Regions from separate parts of the Homo sapiens genome. Here all the other regions are linked to region 5. The links are contacts of gene promoters, found by promoter capture Hi-C in blood cells and fetal thymus (Javierre and others, 2016). All regions are on one chromosome and are shown on one strand. The core of a region is centred on a gene start or on the middle of the fragment in contact, and the rest is flanking DNA. Distances in the headings are between cores, read along the strand shown.

Region 1 (2,889 bases), core at 221-2,720, 900 kb before region 5:
GCAGAGTACGCCTGAAGACACGCCTAGGTGACAGTAGGCACTCAACTTGTGTTCTCCCCTTCGTGGACAAGAAGCGGCGGAGTGCCTATCTTCCTCCGTCTTCGAGCTATTTTAAATTTCTTCTATTACAGCACTTTGGGAGGCCGAGGAGGGTGGATGACGAGGTCAGGAGATCGAGACCATCCTGGCTAACACGGTGAAACCCCGCCTCTACTAAAAATACAAAAAAATTAGCCGGGCGTGGCGACGGGCGCCTGTTGTCCCAGCTACTCGGGAGGCTGAGGCAGGAAAATGGCGTGAACCCGGGAGGCGGAGCTTGCAATACGCCGAGATCGCGCCACTGCACTCCAGCCTGGGTGACGGCGTGATTCTCCTTCTCAAAAAAAAAAAAAAAAAAAAAAAAAAATTCTTCTATTAAAGAATTTCAGGCCAGGCGCAGTGGCTCGCGCCTGTAATCCCAGCACTTTGGGAGGCCGAGGCAGGTAGATCACCTGAGGTCAGGAGTTCGAGACTAGCCTGGCCAACATGGCGAAAACCCCTCTCTACTAAAAATATAAAAAATTACCTGGGCGAAATGGCACGCGCCTGTAATCGCAGCTACTCGGGAGGGTGAGGCAGGAGAATAGCGTGAACCCAGGAGATGGAGGTTGCAGTGAGCCGAGATCGCGCCACTCCACTCCGGGCTCGGCGATACAGCGAGACTCCGTGTCGAAAAAACAAAACAAAACAAAACATTTCAAACTGAAATGGGCGGTTAAAATGCAACTTAAAATGAGATGGTGAGTTTAACGCACCACTTTTCCACTAGGTGGTGCTGCATGTTAAAACTTTCCCTCCATTTACTCCAAAATATTAATTTCTACAGCAGGAAAACTGACGGCCCCTTGGAAAAGGAAAGAAAAGTCAATATGTCACCAAAAAAGACAATTTATTAATAACTCCTCCAAAACCTCTGTGGGTTCCCCTTGGAGTGAAGCGCGAGCAGGGAGCCGCCATAGGGAGCCAGGCCCGCAGCGCCGTTCGTCCTCAGCACAACGAGCGGCAGCGGGCACCGAATTGTTCTGCAACTACTTTTCACATCTGCCTTTTGTAGTTGCTGAACAAAATTCGTTCCCATTTGTTTCCGGTTGGCAAGTTCGTAGGCTTCGGCGGAAGTGTAAAGTCAAGGGCAAGTGGCGGAGGCTGCGGCCACCCCGGTCTCTGAGCGGCGCACCGGACAGGTGGTCAGTCCCGGGACGCGGTGACCCGACGCCCGAGCTCCAAGGCTCGGCCCACGCCGGGTTCGCCCCAGTCCCGCTGGTCCCTCAGCCGACGCCGCCGGGCCTCGCACCGCCCCCCGACCCCGGACCCCCACCCACGCGGCCGCTGTGCACTCACCATGGCCGCTAGCCCTAGGCTCTGGCCTCGCAGCGCCGCCAACAAGCGCCGCGTCGCCCCGAGCGCCCCGAGCACCGCCGCCATTGGCCGTCTGCCGAGGGCTGCCCCGCGCGCTGCCTGCCGGCCGCCCACAGCCGCCCCCGACCCGACCACGCCCAGCTACCGCCAGCCCTGGTAGTCTCCCTGCGGGGCTGGCCCGGAGCGGGGTCTGTGTGTGGGAAGCGCCCAGCCTTCCCGCGGGCACAGGCGCAGCCCGGACCCCGAACACCCCCAGGAGCTTCAGCGGTCGCCAGCGCCCTTGGCCGCCAGGTGGACTCTGCGCGCCCCACAGCCGTAGGCCCAGCAGGCGCGCGCGGTCCCCGCCCCGTGCGGGCCCGTCGCGTCTGTGCCCGGGACGCAGGTCGCCCGGCGCGCGCTGGCCTTGCCCTCCGGTCCTCGCTGCGCTAGGAGGAACTTCGCCCAGCCTCGGGCGCCGGCCTCCTCCGCTTCGCGGGCGCTAGCACCGAGCTGGGCTCCCCGCTTGGCGGCGCTGCGCGCAGTCCATGCGGGCAGGAGGATGTCGTAGGCCAGGGCGGGGCAGTTGAGCGGCGGGGCTGGGGCAGTGAACCACGGCAGTTCCCATCGGGGGCTCCTAAGTCTTGCAGTAGTGGGTTCGAACGCAGCCTCTGTTCAGTCATCACGCAGCTGCCAAGTTCTTGAGCCAGCTGGCTCGTCTGGGTTTGCCTGGACCAAAAAGTGTGGAAACCCGGCCTGTAATCCCCTCCCAAACGTGTCCGTGCCCTGTTTACCCCCAGGCTCAGCACACAGTAGGAGCTCTGCAGACAGCTGTGAACAGATTTAGGTGAATCTTTTCTTGTATCATTTTTGGGGAGGTATTCTTTCATTCTTTTTTTTTTTTTTTTTTTGACTTTTTTGAGATGTAATTGACATACTATTAAGAATACTCACTTGTATCTTTTTTTTTTTTTTTTTTTTTTGAGACGGAGTCTCGCTCTGTCGCCCAGGCTGGAGTGCAGTGGCGCGATCTCGGCTCACTGCAAGCTCCGCCTCCCGGGTTCACGCCATTCTCCTGCCTTAGTCTCCCGAGTAGCTGGGACTACAGTCACCCGCCACCACGCCCGGCTAATTTTGTTTTTGTATGTTTAGTAGAGACGGGGTTTCACAGTGTTAGCCAGGATGGCCTCAATCTCCTGACCTCGTGATCCGCCCGCCTCGGCCTCCTAAAGTGCTGGGATTACAGGCGTGAGCCACCGCGCCCGGCCTCTTTTTTGTTTGTTTTTAACTGAATAGTTTAAGCAGGCCAGGCATGGTGGCCCGCACCTGTAATCACAGCACTTTGGGAGGACAAGGCAGGAGGATCACTTGAGGCCAGATGTTCGAGATCTGCCTGGGCAACATGGCAAAACCCCATCTCTATTAAAAATACAAAAATTAGCCACGCGTGGTGGCACGTGCTGGTAGTTCCAGCTATCCGTGAGGCTGAGATGGGAGGATGGCTTGAGCCCGGGAGGC
Region 2 (3,049 bases), core at 62-2,561, 910 kb after region 5:
TCAGCTCAGACCAACTTCAGTAAAATCTGTGGGGATGAAACCCAAGCATTTGTAGTTTTGTTTTCCTTGAGGCAGGGTCACACTCTGACACATAGGCTAGAGTGCAGTGGCGCAAACAGGACTCACTGCAGCCTTGACCTCCTAGGCTCACGCAATCCTCCTGCCTCAGCCTCCCATGCAGGTGGGACCACAGGTGTGTGCCACCACACCTGGCTAGTTTTTTTGTTGTTGTTGTTGTTGTTTTTAACTTTTTGTAGAGATGAGGGTCTCACTTTGTTGCCCAGGCTGGCCTCAAACTTCTGGGCTCAAGCAATCTTCCTGCCTCAGCCTCCCAAAGTGCTGGAATCATAGGTAATTTGTAGTTTTGTAAAGCTTTGATTCTGATGCACAATGAAGACAAGACCCAGTGCATAATTCCAACAAATGAGTGTACAATCAATTCTACTTTTGAAAATAATTAACTGAGACTCAGAGCACTCTTCAACAACCAGAATCAGGAATAACTCAAGTTGAGAAGTGTATGATCTGAAAGAAGAAATCAACTTGTGTTCCACTTCTATACAAATTCTGCATAAAAATCTACTGCTGGTTCACTTATATTGGGGGAAGGGCAAACATACAAACCCACTCTCACTCAGCAGCTCTGTCACAATGCTCCGGCCTTGCCACCAAGTCTGCTTGCTACAATTTCTAGACAAGTCACCTCTGGGCCATCACAAGTGGTATACAATGTCTAGATTACCTCTTCCTCCTTTGCATTCTGATCTGTTTCCATTGGCTCCTCATTTTCCTCAGACTTGTGAACCTCCACTAAAGATGCACTGGACACACTGAAAATGCCATGGACATTTACTCGAACTTTGACTTTCACTTTTGAACTGGAGCCATCAGACTGAGGAGTGACTTTCTGAACTGAAAACTGAGCTAGGGACATACGAGAGACAAAAGAACACATAACCTAAGAGGATGAATTCAAGCATGAATATATGCCTACATTGCTAGATTATGTCTACTTTCAATGATAGCTCAGTAACATGATGCTTAAAATAAGCAAAATCGGTCCTTTTAGAATCTTATTAAATCATCAGATTTCTCTTTCTTCTTTCACAGTCTCTTATTATCTTATCCTGCCCCAATTAAGAACTCAAATATCTCCCGATTCTTTCCTTTCTTCCAATTTCTTATTTCCATTTATCTTTATATGCTACTTTCAGATTAATTCCTAAAACAGATTTGTCACATTCTCTACTCAAAAAACAAAACAGAAAAAAAAAATGATTCCACTCTGCTTGTCGTTTATCAGTAAATTGCCATTTCTAGGTCCAGTGACTGTACAAGGTTTTTATTTACATTTTCTTCATTCCCAGAACTCTGCAAAGTATGAATTATCATTGTTATTCCTGGTTTTACAGATTTACAGATGGGGAAAAAAGAATAGGTTAACTTTCCACAGCTTCTAAATGCCATTCAGGATACTCCTAATTTCTTTACCCATATATTCTAGGTCTTTATACTATAACTAGTTTCTATCTCTTCTCAACTAGTATTATTTCCAGATAAGAGTTTCCCAGAGTCTATAACTACTCTAGATAACACGGTTCTGAAACCTAGTATGTTTTGATATTGTATCACCATCTCCTAATGATTTTCTATATACATCCTTTTTTTTTTTTTTTTTTTTTTTTTGAGACAGAGTCTCGCTCTGTCGCCTAGGCTGGAGTGCAGTGGCGTGATCTCAGCTCACTGCAAGCTCTGCCTACCGAGTTCACGCCAGTCTCCTGCCTCAGCCTCCCAAGTAGCTGGGATTACAGGCGCCCGCCACCACACCTGGCTAATTTTTTTTTGTATTTTTTTAGTAGAGACGGGGTTTCACCATGTTAGCCAGGATGGTCTCGATCTCCTGACCTGCCCGCCTTGGCCTCCCAAAGTGCTGGGATTACAGGCGTGAGCCACCGCACCTGGCTATTTTCTATATACATCTTATAACTGTATGTTAGGGTCCAAACTGAATTTCGTTAACTCCTTATAGTATATAGCACCACCTTATACATAAGTTATAATTACAATGTGCGCTAACCAAGAAAAACTGCCGATACAATGGGAGATCCAATTAAATAACAGCCATTTGGCTGGTTCTAAACCTGCTAACGAGACTGGAAGAGGTTTTCTTTTGCAATCTAAAGCCCCTAAATTTCAGAATACCATACTTGTTCTTTCTACTATGCGAACTCTCCAAGTAGATAAGCTTTTTTTTGTTGTTGTTTAAATGGAGACAGGGTCCCACTATGTTGCCCAGGCTGATCTCGAACTCCTCAGCTCAAGTGATCCTCCCACCTTAGCCTTTCAAAGTGTTGGGATTACAGTTGTGAGCCACTGTGCTTTTTTTTTTTTTTCTTTTTTAATTTCCAACTCTTTACTTACCTATAGCAGGATCTGGATAGGGCAAATCCTGAGGAGAGCTGTAGTAGGCCTCAAGAGTGAAAGGTTCCTTTCTATAAAATGTAAGAACTTTAGAGAAAGGAGCAGCATGATTTTTGGAAAAGACTTCACAGTCACTGAATGGAGGAAAAAGACAAAAACACAAATTCAGGATATTCCTAACACTTTTACCCATGTGTTCTAGGTTTGTAATTATTGTACAGTGTTAGTTTCTCTCTCTTTTCAATTGGTATTATTTCCAGATTATAAGAGTTCCCAAGAATCTTTATATATAAAGTCAGTAAAAAAGGAATATACGTCAATCTGCACATAAAAGGCACTGATGATTTCAGCAGAATCAAGTGTGAGAAACTAATTAAGGACACAAATTTATTCTGACTAAAATAAATGACCACTTCCTTCATGCACTATGATAAAATGTTACAGATTTATGTAAACTGAAATGAAAAGCAACATATTACTCAGACCTAATAGTCAATTAACTTTAGATATGTAAATGATTAATAAACATGATACCTTGACCCTTCTTCAGCTGGAGAATTCCATCTCAGAGATATTGGATATGGTACTACATCAGTGATAGAAAATTCTCTGACTTTGAAAGCAGGCG
Region 3 (3,193 bases), core at 202-2,701, 980 kb after region 5:
GTATTTTTAGTAGAGATGGGGTTTCTCCATGTTGGTCAAGCTGGCCTTGAACTCCCAACCTCAGGTGATCCGCCCTTCTCGGCCTCCGAAAGTGCTGGGATTACAGGCGTGAGCCACTGCGCCTGGCCGGGAAAACATTTTCATAAGTACACTGAGGAATGAAAAAATCAAGCTGGAGAACACAACATGTAAGAGCCTATTTTTTTGAAGAACAAGTTGTGCTCAAAGGTCACATCATCACCTTCCCTAACTCCTAATCACTCTTTAATCCCTTACTCTGAAATATTTTTCGTTAGAGTACTTATGCCCATGAGAATAGTCTTCATTCATTGTCTGTAGAAAGTTCCATGTGTACACGGATTTTATTTGTTCAAATGCTCTGTCCTCAGCTCCTAAAACATTTTAAGTGTTAATTATTAATTGAAAAAATATGGCTGGGCGCGGTGGCTCACGCCTGTAATCCCAGCACTTTAGGAGGCCGAGGCGGGCGGATTATGAGGTCAGGAGATCGAGACCATCCTGGCCAACATGGTGAAACCCTGTCTCTAGTAAAAATACAAAAATTAGCTGGGCATGGTGGCGCGTGCTTGTCATCCCAGCTATTCGGGAGTGTGAGACAAGAGAATCTCTTGAACCAGGGACCCAGAGGTTGCACTGAGCCGAGATCGCGCCACTGCACTCCAGCCTGGCGACACAGCGAGACTCTGTCTCAAATTAAAAAAAAAAGGAAAAAATATGGATGACCCAGAAACACACACACACTTCAGAAAATTATATATATTTCAGAGAACGTGGGTTTTAAGAGAATAATAGCTCCGTGAGCTGACATTAGATGTAGGTGCAGCTAAAATATTCTAAAATATTTGTATAGTCCTTTTCTGCTTGATAAAGCAGCTTTAGTTATACAGTCCCATTTAGTACTCGTAACAACGCTGTGAAATACATAAAAAACAGAAATAACGTATATGTTTGCACTCCATGGCTTGCTAAAGTCATTCTTTCAATTGATGGTCTCAATCCTGGTCAACTAATTCCTTTCTATTCTCCAGACTACTTCTAGTTTTCTGAACACCAAAGTTTCATTCTTTGTCTTTGTATGTGTATCCCTCGTTCGAGAATGTTGTCCTCATTTTCCACAGATAATGTTCTTGCCTGTAATCATCCTTTGAAACCCTGTTCGGCCCGAGAACCCGAGACCCATACTGGAGACACCGGCCCCTCCCGACCCACCAGTCCCTCCCGTCCCGACCCTCCAGCCCCTCCAGCCCCTCCCCTCCCGACCCTCCAGCCCCTCCCCTCCCGACCCTCCAGCCCCTCCCCTCCCGACCCACCAGCCGGCACTAAGATACCTCCCCTTAGAAGCCTGTCTGGCCCCGCCTACGTCTACGGCCTCCCGGTTGGAAGCCCCGCCCTTCCGAGGAGTTTCCCAAAACCCTGCGCGGCCGGCTTTGACCGCGCTAAGATGGCGACTCCCATGCATCGGCTAATAGCCCGGAGACAAGCGTAAGTAAGGATCCGGTTCGGGTCCACTGGAGGGCTGGGAGCGGGGAAACGCGCGTCAACGGGCTGGTGTCGGACCCCTATTGGGACCGGCGGAGAATGTCCGTTTCTCAAACACTCTTCTGGCTCCCGGGGGGCTCGGGCCCGGGCGATAAGTCTGGTGACCGGGGGTTAGCGATTTCGCGGAAGACAGCCGCGTAAAGTCTGCGGCACGGGACAGAGCGGGGTTTGAAGACAACTGTCGCGTTTGGTTTCTCTGAAAGGAACGCCCACAGTTGGTCACTCAGTGATTTATGCCCCTCCGCCAACCCCACGCGTGGACAGGGGAGCCCTGAAGCCCCGGTCCGACACCTTTATTCCAGCCGACGTAAACCTTCAGTTTCCTATTCAGTGTCCAGCCCAGCTGCCTTTTCCTACTTCCTTATTCTAGCGCCTTCCTTAGGAACACCCTGCCTTCAATGCCGATTGCTTTCCCAGGCTATCTTACCACCTTTTGCTACTCATTCTCTCTTTCAATAAATATTAATTTATTTAGTTCCTACCGTTCTGTGCCAGACATTGGGTATAAATAGAGGTGTTCAAGACAAAATCCTTGCTTTCAGAGAGCTTACATTCTAGTGATGGAAACAGTCGATAAACCACAAATTGTAAATACAGCTGGTGATAACAGCTTTGAAGGAAGTAAGCTGTTGTGATGGAAAGAGGGAAAGGCCCACTTTAGGTTGGTTGGACTGGAAAGGCATCTCTGAAGAGGTGGAATTTGAACAGAGATTTAAAGGATGAAAAAGGAACAGTCATACGAGGATTTTGAGAAAGAGCATCCGGATAGTGGCATAATTGCTTTGAGCCTGAAACTTACTTTTTACAGAACTGAAAGATAGCCATTACGCCTAATGAACAAGAGAGAGTGGCAGAAGAGATTCATAGCTGACAAATAATGCAAGGGTCACCCCAGATGCCCCTTTCTTTTTTTTTTTTTTTTTTTTTTTTTTTTTTGAGGCGGAGTCTTGCTCTGTCTCCCAGGCTGGAGTGCAGAGGTGCAATCTTGGCTCACTGCAAGCTCCGCCCCCCGGGTTCACGCCGTTCCCCTGCCTCAGCCTCCCGAGTAGCTGGGACTACAGGCGCCCGCCACCATGCCCGGCTGGTTTTTTGTATTTTTAGTAGAGATGGGGTTTCACCGTGTTAGCCAGGATGGTCTCGATCCCCTGACCTCGAGATCCGCCCGCCTTGGCCTCCCAAAGTGCTGGGATTACAGGCGTGAGCTACCGCGCGCGGCAACCCCTTTCTTATAAAGCTTTTTTTTCCAACAGCCTTTGCACATCCAGACATCTGCCTCTTTTTCATAAATATTTCATGCCATCTCCATTTTCATGTCTATATGTAGCTCAGAGTCTGCTAGTATATGTATGTGTGTTTATCTGTATATCTTTTTATATTTTTTAATTCAAATAATCCCTTTTTCTTCTCCTTTCCATCTACCCTTTCAGGCCTGATAAGAAGAGTTCCTCAAATGTACAGACAGACTTAGGGAGTTAGAGTAGTAAGCTTGGTGAAGGAAGAAGGCTCGAAGTCAGACAGGTTTTTTTTGTTTTTTTTTTAGACGGAGTCTCACTCTGTTGCCCAGGCTGGAATGCAGTGGTGCGATCTTGGCTCACTGCAACCTCTGCCTCCCTGGTTCAAATGATTCTCCTGC
Region 4 (3,124 bases), core at 411-2,910, 900 kb after region 5:
GCTGGCGAATGCCACTTACGAAGGGAGAGTAAAGAGTCTCTACTCACCCTGTCCTAATGACGTGTGCTGAAACTGGAGGAATAAGGTCAGGATTAGCCTGGCACTTGCCCATGGATATTGAGCAAATCTGGAAAGCATTCTGTATTTTTTTAAATACTCTGAGGTCTTTCCTTCCCTGATCCTCCAGAAATTTACACCCTCCTTTATCTTTCCAGATGTGTTGCTTGTACCTCAACTTGGCCATTTTCCCTATTTGCCTCCTAGACTGATGCTTAAGAAGTCACCTCTTTAGTTTCTACACTTCTTGCAATATCTGCTCAAAATAGCAGTTCACAAAAACAGTGGCATTCCAGGTTAGAGGGTCATGGCCCAGGGCTGCCCCAGCCAAAGCCAAGTACATCCAAGGAATGTACTGGCAACTCCAAGATTCCCAATGGTCTCAAGTAAGTGGTGGGAACCATCCCCATTTACACACAGGACACTGCCCAACCTCCTTTCTCGCAGACTGATGCCTCATTTCAGAGGCCAAGCTTCTTTTTTTTTTTTTTTTTTTGCTTTTTTTTTTTTATTTTTTTTTTTTATTTTTTTTTTTTTAATTTATTTTTTTATTGATAATTCTTGGGTGTTTCTCACAGAGGGGGATTTGGCAGGGTCATGGGACAATAGTGGAGGGAAGGTCAGCAGATAAACAAGTGAACAAAGGTCTCTGGTTTTCCTAGGCAGAGGACCCTGCGGCCTTCCGCAGTGTTTGTGTCCCTGATTACTTGAGATTAGGGATTGGTGATGACTCTTAACGAGCATGCTGCCTTCAAGCATCTGTTTAACAAAGCACATCTTGCACCGCCCTTAATCCATTTAACCCTGAGTGGACACAGCACATGTTTCAGAGAGCACAGGGTTGGGGGTAAGGTCACAGATCAACAGGATCCCAAGGCAGAGGAATTTTTCTTAGTGCAGAACAAAATGAAAAGTCTCCCATGTCTGCTTCTTTCTACACAGACACGGCAACCATCCGATTTCTCAATCTTTTCCCCACCTTTCCCGCCTTTCTATTCCACAAAGCCGCCATTGTCATCCTGGCCCGTTCTCAATGAGCTGTTGGGCACACCTCCCAGACGGGGTGGTGGCCGGGCAGAGGGGCTCCTCACTTCCCAGTAGGGGCGGCCGGGCAGAGGCGCCCCTCACCTCCCGGACAGGGCGGCTGGCTGGGCGGGGGGGCTGACCCCCCCACCTCCCTCCCGGACGGGGCGGCTGGCCGGGCAGAGGGGCTCCTCACTTCCCAGTAGGGGCGGCCGGGCAGAGGCGCCCCTCACCTCCCGGACAGGGCGGCTGGCTGGGCGGGGGGGCTGACCCCCCCACCTCCCTCCCGGACGGGGCGGCTGGCCGGGCAGAGGGGCTCCTCACTTCCCAGTAGGGGCGGCCGGGCAGAGGCGCCCCTCACCTCCCGGACAGGGCAGCTGGCTGGGCGGGGGGGCTGACCCCCCCCACCTCCCTCCCGGACGGGGCGGCTGGCCGGGCGGGGGGCCGACCCCCCCACCTCCCTCCCGGACGGGGCGGCTGAGGCCAAGCTTCTTGACCAAGTACTCAGCACCTGCAGCCTCACCTCAAGCCCCTTCACCCCACCCAGCTCCCACCCTACTGAAGCATCTAACCCTGCTGGCCACTGCCACATCTCACATCTCTAGCTCCCTTCCTCCCAACATGCTTTATGCATCATAACTCCTCTCTGGCAGTTCCTTCTTTCAAAGCTTTTACTTCCTCTTCCTAACACATCTCAACACAAGCCTTCATCCCGTCAATGAGGAACACGACTCCAGCCCCAAAAGCTTCCATCCACACCCACCTGGAGCTTCGATGTCTCAACCCCACCCAGGAAAACTTCTCAATCTAAACTCCCACCACATCTCCAATGACTCAAGACTAGAAGCTCCACATGTACAATCATATCCCGTATTCTAGGTTTGAAACCTTGGAGCCATTCTTCTTAAAACACACTTCTAGTTTTCTTAACATTATAAAATTCCTAAATGCTTTTATTAGTGACAGGAGGCGGTGGGGGGTAGGGGCTTGTCTCCCCATGTTGCCCAGGCTGGTCTTGAACTCCTGGACCCAAGAGATCCTCCCACTTTGGCTGGGATTACAGGCATGAGCCACCATGCCTGGCCCTAAATGCTTATTGTAGCAAACTCTGAAAACAGAAACAAGCAAAAATAAACAATCACCCACAATCCCACCCTAAAAACCACTTCATCTGGGAAAATCCTTCTGGCTTTTTTATTGCAAACCCATTTAATGTTCTTTCAAAACATGAGAGGCTATGTAGTTTTATAACCTACATTGTGTGTGTAAAAATGTAGGCCAGGCATGGTGGCTCACACCTGTAATCCTGGCACTTTGGGAGGCCAAGGTGGGCAGATCACAAGGTCAGGAGTTCGAGACCAGCCTGGCCAATACAGTGAAACCCTGTCTCTACTAAAAATACAAAAATTAGCAGTGCGTGGTGGCGCACGCCTCCAGTCCGTTACTCGGGAGGCTGAGGCAGAAGAATCACTTGAACCCGGGAGGCAGAGGTTGCAGTAAACCAAGATCCCGCCACTGCACTGCAGCCTGGGTGACAAAGCGAGACTCCATCTCAAAAAAAAAAAAAAAAAATACACACCTTTCTGTTAAAGCCACTTAAAATTATTGAAATAGATCAAGTGTACATGAGTACACTATCAAGTCAGATCAAAAAACAAGCATCACCAAGCCTCACATCATGTTGTCACTACTCCACAAAGAGTAACTACTATCCCAACTTCTAAAGCATGGTTTTCAGCTGGAACCATGCTTACATCTTCCCTCTTCCTGCAGGTACCAAAACCAGCAATTTTCCCCTTCATTTGGCTGTCCCCTCAAAGGTGGACTAAGTCCCACTACCTCCAACAACCCCCAGGCCCCCTGTGCCCCTGCAAAGCAGCTCCCACTGCCCCACAACAGAACCCTGATCTCTCAGGCCCCCACCTTTTAAGGAGACAGGGTATCACTTTATCACCCAGGCTGGAGTTGCAATAGCACAATCTCAGTTCACTGCAGCTTTGACCACCTGGGCTCAAGTGATCCTCCTGCCTCAGCCCCCCAAGTA
Region 5 (2,771 bases), core at 60-2,559:
CCAGTCTCAGTGTGCGGGGTGGGGACCACCAGGCTGGGAAGCCCAGAGTTCCCAGGCAACTCGTGCGCCTGGGAGGGTCATAGAATCCGTCCTACACTCCTCAGGATCTTGAAGGGGGCTCTTCCTTACATTCCCAGTCACCCCTCCCCCAGCCCCTACACAGGGCCTAGGTAACCTGTCTGCACCCCACTCCCACTCTGTATCAGCTGCCCTCTTCCTCAGCACCCTATCCCACTGGAGCACCTTTTCCAACTCCAGTCGCCACTTTTAATCTGCCGCCTTTTCCCAGCAGCCAGTCCTGATTGCCTCCTCCGTAGCCCCAGTTGCCCACTGCTTTAGATAGTGTCGCAGCTGGCTGTGAGGAGTGTCCTGATTCTGTAACCCGGCACCTCCTCCACAGGGCCCTAGACGCCTCAAGCCTTCCAGGACGTTTGTTGATCAAAGGCGAAGGATGTGTAGAATCTTCGTCCATCTACGAATTAATTCTCGAAACCTGCTTCGAGTGGGCCTCGCGCGTAACACAGGGGACACTCAGTGGTGAACGAGACCACTCGCTTAGGCCTAGCAGCGAGGTGACCGTTCACTCAACACACACTAACTGGGTCCCGCAGGACACGCCCCGGCTGGTCGCGGGGGTTACCCGGGGTGCCCTCAGTCGGCCGGCCGGCCATAACCGGCGTGATCTCCTCGCGCCGAGAGACCCAGCAGGGACCTCGCAAAACCCAATCCACGTTTTGTTTTATTTTGTCTTTTTGCCTCTCAAATGCATGGAAATTGGCTGCTAGTAGCTTTGCTACAGGAGAAAATCGCTAATCTGTAGTGCAAAATCGGCGCACAGGGGTTTTCTCTGAGATTGTCTAGACGCCGCGCGGGCGGGTCGGAGGCGCCAGACACATTGTATCCGGAGCGCGGAGCTCGGGAGCAACAGTCGCCGCCTCTACTCTGTATCTGCGCCGCCCCAGGCGCCCAGTGTCCGCGCTGGGCCTGGGACTGCCCTCGGGGGATGGGGCCCACGCGGGCTTTGATGGGGGGCCGGGGGCCACTTTGTCCACCCAGGCGAGGCTTGGGTCCAGCGCCGGCCACATCAACTCCCGGGGGATCTAGCAGCGCGGAGGCCAAGCAGGAGGCCCAGGAGCCCCGCGCGTCTTCCATTAGCGCAGGGACCTCCGGGCCACAGCTCAGAGAATCGGAAGGCCTCCTCCCCCTTCCCGAGCGCTGCCACTGGGGCCGAGGTTTCCAGCAAGAACCCGCGTGTCCCTGCGCACGCACACACGGTGCACACGTCAGTCCGGCGCCTCCCCGTGCCCCGACTCACGCAGGTCCTCCCGCGCGCCCGCAACACGCCCGCAGGCTCCTGTGTCTGCTGCCGGGGCAGCGGGGCCCGGAAGGGTAAGAACGCGGCTCGCTAGCGGGATGGGGACCCTGGCCCGGCCTGGACGCTGTCCCGGGCGGGGCCTGGGGGCGGAGCGCGCCGGGCCGGGCGCGCAGGAGGGGAGGCGGGTCCGCGCCGCCGCCGTCCGCGCCGCCCCGCCCTTGGCCCAGCCGCTCGCTCGGCTCCGCTCCCTGGCTCGGCTCCCTGCCTCCGCGTCGCAGCCCCCGCCGTAGCCGCCTCCGAGCCCGCCGCCACATCCTCTGAGGTAGGCGCAGCGGAAAAGGACCCCGGCTTCCTTGCGCCCTGGACGGCGGGGGCCAGGCCCCTGGGGAGCTGAGAGGGAGGCGCTGAGGGAGGAGCGGGCGAGGGGCCCCGGCAGCCCGGCCGCGGGGAGGGATCGCGAGCGGCCGGCGCGGGCCTGGCTGGTGAGCGGGCGGGCAGAGAAGGCCGCACAGGCGGGTGCCGAACAGGTCTGGGCTGGGGAGCGCGAGGCCGAGGGTCCAGAGACGCCTGCGGCTGGCGGCGAGAGGCGGCCCGGGCTTGCGGGCGGAAGTGCAAGGGCGGCCGCGTGGAGGCCCGGCGGGCCGCGCGTCTAGGTGACCTTCCCCGGCGGCGCCCTCTGGCCCTGGATCCCACCAGCGTGCATCCGGCGGGGACCCGTTCGCCGCCCACGCTCGCCGGACCAGGCCAGCGGGCGGGTGCCGGCCACGCTGCCGCCTCGGGGATGAGCTCACGTGACGACCGTGGCCCCGAGTCCCCAGGCCCACGCGCCCTGGCCGGCCCACGCCCGCAGAAGCTGGCGCCCGGCACCGCCCGCCTGTGCCAGAGCCTTCTAGAGCGGAACGCGCCGGCCGAGAGTCGACTTAGGCGGTAGAGGCCGGAGCTCGGGCCTGGGCTGAAGGTTTGGCCTCGGAAAAGGAGGCCCCACGGGGAAGGATGTGGCCTTCTTGGTCTTAGGAGTGATTACTGGTTCGGTCGTTCATTCATTCGCCAAATGCGGCGGTGCATTCTGGAAACTGTTTCGGAGCCTGACTTTGGATTAGAGGCCCGCAGTCTTAGTGGTTTGTACAAGGTCACACAGCTGGGAAGTCCCCATACCTTCGTTTTCTCATCTATAGGACGGGAGCAATTGTACCTCTCCTTCGATGAGTTTTGGGGAATAATAAAATGAATTAATTAGCATGAAACCTTTAGAACAGTGCCGGTGTGGAGAAGGGCTAAGTAGAAACCCTGACACCCTTGGGGCTTTTTGGGTGAATCCAGCCCATCCCCCGCAGACCATTTTGCTACACGTGGCGTTGTGGAAGGGGTTCAATAAATGTAGCTCCTGTTTTTAAACATTCTTTCACTATTATTGACAAGCATTTGTATACCAGGTATTGAGTAACTTTCAGCTTAA
Region 6 (2,724 bases), core at 50-2,549, 840 kb before region 5:
AGACTCCATCTCAGGAAAAAAAAAAAAAAAATAGGATGAATACTACATTTCCAGACAGCGTGGACTGAATAGAAGCCAAGAGTTATAGAACAGGTTGTGTAGACTATCAAAGGTTAAAGATCATCTTTTTAAATAGTTACTGAAGCCGGGTGCAGTGGCTCACGCCTGTAATCCCAGCACTTTGGGAGGTTGAGAAGGGTGGATCACGAGGTCAGCAGTTCGAGACCAGCCTGGTCAACATGGTTAAACACCATCTTTACTAAAAATACAAAAATTAGCTGGGTGTGGTGGCGCATGCCTATAATCCCAGCTACTTGGGAGGCTGAGGCAGGAGAATTGCTTGAACCCGGGAGGCAGAGGTTGCAGTGAGCCGCGATCGCGCCACTGTACTCCAGCCTGGGGGACAGAGTGAGACTCCGTTTCAAAAAAAACAAAACAAACAAAAACAACCAATAAATAGTTCCCTGAATGTACAGGAGTCAACTAAGAGCTTCTATATATTTGGACTGTGACTAAATTCGAATACTTAAAGCATAAGCTAAAACTTACCATCCTTGAAGTTGTTTTATTGTGTTTAACTCCTAAAGTTTAACCCCTAAAATGAGCCGTTCTTTATAGAACAATTCCTTTCTCTTCTCTTGAATGTGGCAGTCATTACTGCCAACATAAAGAAATGTAACTATTTTTAGTAACTTCACAAAGCATCCCTGAAGCTTTCTAAACATGGAGAAAGCTTCCTTTCAAGAAACCCAAGTTCTGTTCTCCAAAGATCAAAGATCACGTAATTCTCAGAGATTTATTTCAGGTCATTTGACTAACTATTATGTATAATCATATACGTTTCATAATTCTAAATGAAGATTTGCAACTCACCTCAATCACTCTGAAAGTCCATTCAGCAGAGGCCAATAGCCACGCACCCTGCCCCACCACGGAAAGTTTTGATAATAGGACGGCACATAAATAACGGCCTCCTTTGTCTTCTTCCTGCTCCTTAACTGTGCCCCACGGTGCACAAATAAGGACTCTCCTTATTTTGACACGAGGCGTTTAGAATGTATTACCTGTTGTGTGCTGAAAGCGACTATTAGCGTATTGGCAATAACAAGTTTGCAGAAGATGCACGCCACCCTAGAGAAAGGGTTGTGTACCCTCTAAAAAGCAAAATTCATAAGCCGCTATCCGTCCACTCGGAGTTCCGCAAGCGTAGAAGTCCACGGGCACTCCATCGCGACGCCGATCTCGAGCCGGCAGGCTTTTATTTAAAGGCGAAGGGCGGACTGCGGATTCTGACCTCTCAAAGAAAAGAAAGGGGGCTCCCTCCCCCCGCCGCAGGAGGAATGTCCCCCCGTAATGGCTCCACACCGGGGAAGAGCAGGCTACGTCCGGGGCCCCTCCTCTCACTCCGGCTACACTAGGGCCCCTTGGCAGGAGGCCTCTTCTCCCCGGTCAGCGAGGCGCCCGTTCTCGCCGCCGCCCTACCCCGCTCCCGGCCGGCTGACCAGCCCGCGCACCCCTACCTACCTCAGCCGCTCGTAGCCCGGCCCCTCGGCGCGTCTAGGGGCTTCCCAGCGGCTGGGAACCTCGTGCTGGCGCCGCTCCCTCCCCAGCCCGCCGCCTCTGCACGGTGCGGAGAACGGGCCAAGACGGAGTGGCAGGCAGCGAGGGCGGCGGCGAGGCAGGCGCTGGCTCCCAGCACCCGCCGCGGCCGCCGCGCACGGTCCTGCCCCGGACGCAGTACGAAGAGGCCGCTACCACCCTGTAGTGTTAGAGGCGGCGTGCGCGAGCTCGCGAGGGCCGCGCACGCACACGCTCACTCGCATCGCGAGACCCGATCTCCCGCCGCCAACCTGCACGCAAGCTTTGGGAGGGAGCCAGGCTGGCAGGCTGCGCTTGCGCGTCGTGGCCTTAAGCCTGAGCTGCTGGTGATCCGGCGTGGACCGTCCCCAGTGGCTGGGGTTGAGGAACCCACCAAATGGGGAATTAATAACTTCCTTACTTGTATTGGTTTTCACCACAATTCTGAGATGCTGGAACTCCTGCTGACCCCATTTCTTAGATACAGGACAAATAAATGATAGTCAGGGGAGTTGGGACTCTTCATGCCCAGGATCATGTGATAATGAAAAGCTTTATTTTATGGGACATCCTATGATCCACGCAGATTACAGGCGTAAGCCACCACGCCCCAGGAATTGTCGCATTCATTATTCCATAATCACAGGAAAGGATGGAACAACAAACTACCGCTATTATGTTTTTCTTGTGAGATATCTGACATATCAGTCACCTCACACAAACCCACTTAGAAGGGATTCATTTCCTCACTCCTTCCTCCTGTGAATTTCCAGATGTCAGAATGGAGAGGATCCAGAATTAGGGCAGCTACTGAAAGGGAGACACTTTATTAAGCAGTGGGAAGAGGCTAGAGGAGGATGCTTGCCCTTTTCCCCCATGTAATGAAGGATATTTGAGGATGGACAATTCATAGAACTGAGTTCTACCATAAGCACAGCCCTGAGCCAGGTACTGCCCTGCCAGTAGGAAAGAAAGGAGGAGAAACAACTTTTCTGGACAAACACACAAGCCAGGACACAACACACGAAACAAGCAAGCCCATTCATTCAAACTACTGAGGGACTGGAGACAGATAAGCCATGTGAACAGTTGATCAAACCTACACCAATAAAAACTCTGGACAGCCTGGGTGCGGTGGCTCACGCC
Region 7 (2,783 bases), core at 39-2,538, 870 kb before region 5:
ACCGGGAGCAGTGGCTCACATCTGTAATCCCAGCACTTTGGGAAACAGGTGGGAGGATCACTTAAGCCCAGGAGTTCAAGGCTGCAGGGAGCCATGATGGGCCACTGCACTCCCGCCTGGGCAACAGAGCAAGCCCTCATCCCTTAAAAAAACAAAAACAAAACAGTAAAGATTCCAAAAGATGATGCTCGTAAAGCACTGAGCACAGCATCTGGTACACAGTGAGCGCTTTCATTCATGGTAATTGTGTTACTATGACTCACCCTTCTCCACAACTCTCTGCTGTCCTGCCTCCATCCAGGACACCCCAGGGAAAAGAAAGACCTGCCTATTCCTGTTAAGGTCTAAATGACAAGCGAGACCGAGGGTCTGGACTTTAACAGGACTATGAGGAGTGGGGTGAAGGAGCATGAAAGTAAGGCCTCCACTCTCCACCCTCGCCATGCCTCTAGAGTGGCTGCCTTCCCTACCGGCAAGTTGGGGGTTACCGGGAGTCTCCCGTGTTTCTCGTCTGTTTTTCATGCAGGGAGCTGAGCAAGACTGGCCTCCTTAAGACAGTGGTCCAGCAGCGTGGACTCCAGACTGGGCTTTGGCGTCAGAGAGACAGGCTTCTGCCACGTATCAGAAGCGCAAACTTAGGCGGGGCCTGAGCATCTTCATCTGTGAAATGGAGACACTAAACGGAACCGATCTGACAGGGTTTGTGGGAGCATTAAATGGGATAATGATGTAAATAAAGCACGATGCACAGTTCCTGGCTCCTAATACGGCCACAACAATGTCGGTATTTGATATAATGTTATTAATAATAAATTGCTTATCACCAGAGGGTATGCCTCAGCAGCGCTTACCGCACTGTCCCTCCTGGCTACCAGCCACGGGCTGAGGGCGGCCTGAACGCGGCCCAACCACCCCCGGGCTCCCGTCCACCGGCCCTCAGCCCACCGGCCCCCTTTCGCGGGCCACCAGCGGGCGGTGCGCGGGGAGAGAAGTCGGGGAGACGCGCCCGGGGAGACGCCAAGAAGGGGCGAGTCGCGCACCGCCGGCCTTCGCGCAGGTCCAGAGCGTCGCCCGGGTGGACCTCAGCTCGCCCCATCATCTCATGCACCGCCCCCGGCCCACACTCACCCTCCACGCCGCGGACGGGAAGTCCCAGCACCCACAGCAATACTTGCCACCAGCCGAGGAGCCGCATGACGCGGGGCGGTCGTCGACCGGCAGCCGGGACCATTGCCCAGGCCGAGAGGCAATCGGCGCACGGCTACGCGAGTCGTGCTGCCAGCCGGAGGAAGGCTGGGGGAGGAGAGCCTGGGAGCGCGGGCGCGGCCCCGCGCCGCCATCTTAACACCTGGCAGCTGTGGCGGGCGCCATCTTGGAGTCGGGCGGACGGCCTCTAGCCGCTGGCCGTCGGCGCTGGACTGGAGACCTCTTTAGGAGCTAAGCGCCAGACGTTGCAGGTCGTTTTGAACTCTGCTGACCCCAGAGTGCAGAGCATGGCTCTGGCAGAGGCCCATGGCCTCCTTTCTTCCCTCGGAAGTCAGAGCTTGGCTACTTGAAGCACTGCGCCCGCCTAAGGAGGGTTTTCCACGCTTCATTCCCAGAGCCAGAAAGGCCCAGGAGCCTTCCTGTTCTAGTGTCCCATCGAGGTGCAGAAACTTTGGAGGCTGCAAATCTTCTAATCGCTTGCCTAACCTGTGCTCCCCTACCTAGGGTTGCCACATAGAATACCTGATACCCAGTTATATTTGAATTTCACATAATGAATATTTTTTACTATAACCCTTATAGTATAAGGGATATACCTTAAAACTGAGCATCCTGTAACTTCGTGACATCTGGCAACCCTAACCCTACCTATCCACTCAGGGCAGGAGAGGTTGGTTTTAACTGATTTACCTTGCAGGGCAATCTCTTTTTAATCATGGTTGGGGCCGTGAGCATCATTGGCTCTGGCTCATGGTGGAGGTGGAGCCACCTCGAGCATAAAGTAGATAGGAAAGGGCTTAGAATGAAGAAAGCATAGATGGGGAGATGAGGAACAGGGCTCTGCATTCCCAAGCAAACGCACAGAGCGGGAGTCTTAAGAGAAAATTCTTGGAATAGAGAGGATGACACCACTAATTGGGGTATTTTGCCGGGGGGCCTGCTAAAATGGAATAAGGCAAGCTTTAAGCAGCCACCAGTCAGTGCTAAATCAGTGCAGAGTGCAGCTTTTCAAACTTATGAGGTTGAAAAAATAGAAACTGATTTAAAATACATCAGTCTATTGGTTAACATAGCAATGGTAAGGGGAACCTGTGCTTTTTGGCCGCTTGGTGAATCCCAACTTCAGCACATGTGATAGTTCACAGTCAGCAGGTTATGTAACTTAAAGTTAAGTTTCTTCAGCTGTAAAGTGGAAATGACGTTATATAGAGTCTTATAGATGAAATGAGATGTAAAGTGATGAGCACAGTGTCCTGGGGCACAGGAAGCATTTCAAAGTGGTAGGCATTATTAATTGAATAATACAATTCTGATGGTGTGGCCATAGTCCCCTTATCTCTATGCCCATCAAAAAGACACTGTTAGGCCAGAAAGATGCATCATTAATCTGTCCCTGTGGATGATTCTTTTATTCTAAATACGTTGGTATGGTTTTGCTGTTGTAGATCCTCAAGTGCCATCTTGTGGGTCCAGAAGAATATGAAACAATGGACATGGATAAAAGAGCCCACAGTTCTAGAGCTTATTACTAGTCATCATTTCGCTAAGTACCTCCCTCACCCCTAACAGTGGAACAA

The links. The method cuts DNA at HindIII sites, captures the fragments that hold promoters and counts their contacts. A CHiCAGO score of 5 or more calls a contact.
Region 1: a contact is called between the fragment with the promoter of PCBD2 here and the fragment with the promoter of VDAC1 in region 5, in 3 of 17 cell types (fetal thymus, monocytes and activated CD4 T cells). The highest score is 7.8, in fetal thymus.
Region 2: a fragment that was not itself captured here is called in contact with the fragment with the promoter of VDAC1 in region 5 in 1 of 17 cell types (naive B cells); the score reaches 5.5 in naive B cells.
Region 3: a contact is called between the fragment with the promoter of ZCCHC10 here and the fragment with the promoter of VDAC1 in region 5, in 3 of 17 cell types (M0 macrophages, neutrophils and total CD4 T cells). The highest score is 8.9, in M0 macrophages.
Region 4: a contact is called between a fragment that was not itself captured here and the fragment with the promoter of VDAC1 in region 5, in 2 of 17 cell types (naive B cells and total B cells). The highest score is 13.3, in naive B cells.
Region 6: a fragment that was not itself captured here is called in contact with the fragment with the promoter of VDAC1 in region 5 in 1 of 17 cell types (non-activated CD4 T cells); the score reaches 5.8 in non-activated CD4 T cells.
Region 7: a contact is called between the fragment with the promoter of TXNDC15 here and the fragment with the promoter of VDAC1 in region 5, in 4 of 17 cell types (non-activated CD4 T cells, activated CD4 T cells, total CD8 T cells and 1 more). The highest score is 7.4, in non-activated CD4 T cells.

The regions. Positions count from the first base shown.
Region 1 is chr5:134,903,712-134,906,600 of GRCh38, reverse strand. PCBD2 (pterin-4 alpha-carbinolamine dehydratase 2) reads right to left here and starts at 1,470. Exons shown (of 4, transcript NM_032151.5): 1 at 1,378-1,470. The coding sequence starts at 1,461. RefSeq lists enhancers at 387-972, 973-1,557 and a silencer at 1,155-1,914. The HindIII fragment of the contact is 31,150 bases long and covers 1-2,889 here.
Region 2 is chr5:133,089,068-133,092,116 of GRCh38, reverse strand. HSPA4 (heat shock protein family A (Hsp70) member 4) reads right to left here. Exons shown (of 19, transcript NM_002154.4): 10 at 2,956-3,049; 11 at 2,422-2,555; 12 at 743-924. Among named protein-coding and RNA genes, the nearest start is that of HSPA4, 39 kb to the right of the region's middle. The HindIII fragment of the contact is 1,873 bases long and covers 375-2,247 here.
Region 3 is chr5:133,024,807-133,027,999 of GRCh38, reverse strand. ZCCHC10 (zinc finger CCHC-type containing 10) reads left to right here and starts at 1,451. Exons shown (of 5, transcript NM_001300816.3): 1 at 1,451-1,503. The coding sequence starts at 1,463. RefSeq lists a silencer at 1,172-1,301 and an enhancer at 1,382-1,691. The HindIII fragment of the contact is 6,187 bases long and covers 1-2,796 here.
Region 4 is chr5:133,107,255-133,110,378 of GRCh38, reverse strand. No RefSeq gene overlaps it. Among named protein-coding and RNA genes, the nearest start is that of HSPA4, 57 kb to the right of the region's middle. RefSeq lists an enhancer at 1,813-1,862. The HindIII fragment of the contact is 180 bases long and covers 1,571-1,750 here.
Region 5 is chr5:134,003,513-134,006,283 of GRCh38, reverse strand. It overlaps VDAC1 (voltage dependent anion channel 1), which reads left to right and starts at 1,309. Exons shown (of 9, transcript NM_003374.3): 1 at 1,309-1,389. RefSeq lists enhancers at 466-535, 576-635, 706-825, 2,476-2,525, 2,536-2,585 and silencers at 996-1,045, 1,086-1,145, 1,206-2,245. The HindIII fragment of the contact is 5,979 bases long and covers 1-2,771 here.
Region 6 is chr5:134,845,013-134,847,736 of GRCh38, reverse strand. It overlaps C5orf24 (chromosome 5 open reading frame 24), which reads right to left and starts at 1,769. Exons shown (of 2, transcript NM_001135586.1): 1 at 1,525-1,769. RefSeq lists silencers at 1,344-1,393, 1,424-1,803 and an enhancer at 1,323-2,058. The HindIII fragment of the contact is 1,128 bases long and covers 736-1,863 here.
Region 7 is chr5:134,872,876-134,875,658 of GRCh38, reverse strand. TXNDC15 (thioredoxin domain containing 15) reads right to left here and starts at 1,288. Exons shown (of 5, transcript NM_024715.4): 1 at 1,129-1,288. The coding sequence starts at 1,231. It overlaps LOC124901071 (a long non-coding RNA gene), which reads left to right and starts at 261. Exons shown (of 2, transcript XR_007058943.1): 1 at 261-415; 2 at 527-828. RefSeq lists enhancers at 653-722, 616-1,321, 1,253-1,542, 1,563-1,612 and a silencer at 903-1,012. The HindIII fragment of the contact is 3,704 bases long and covers 1-2,168 here.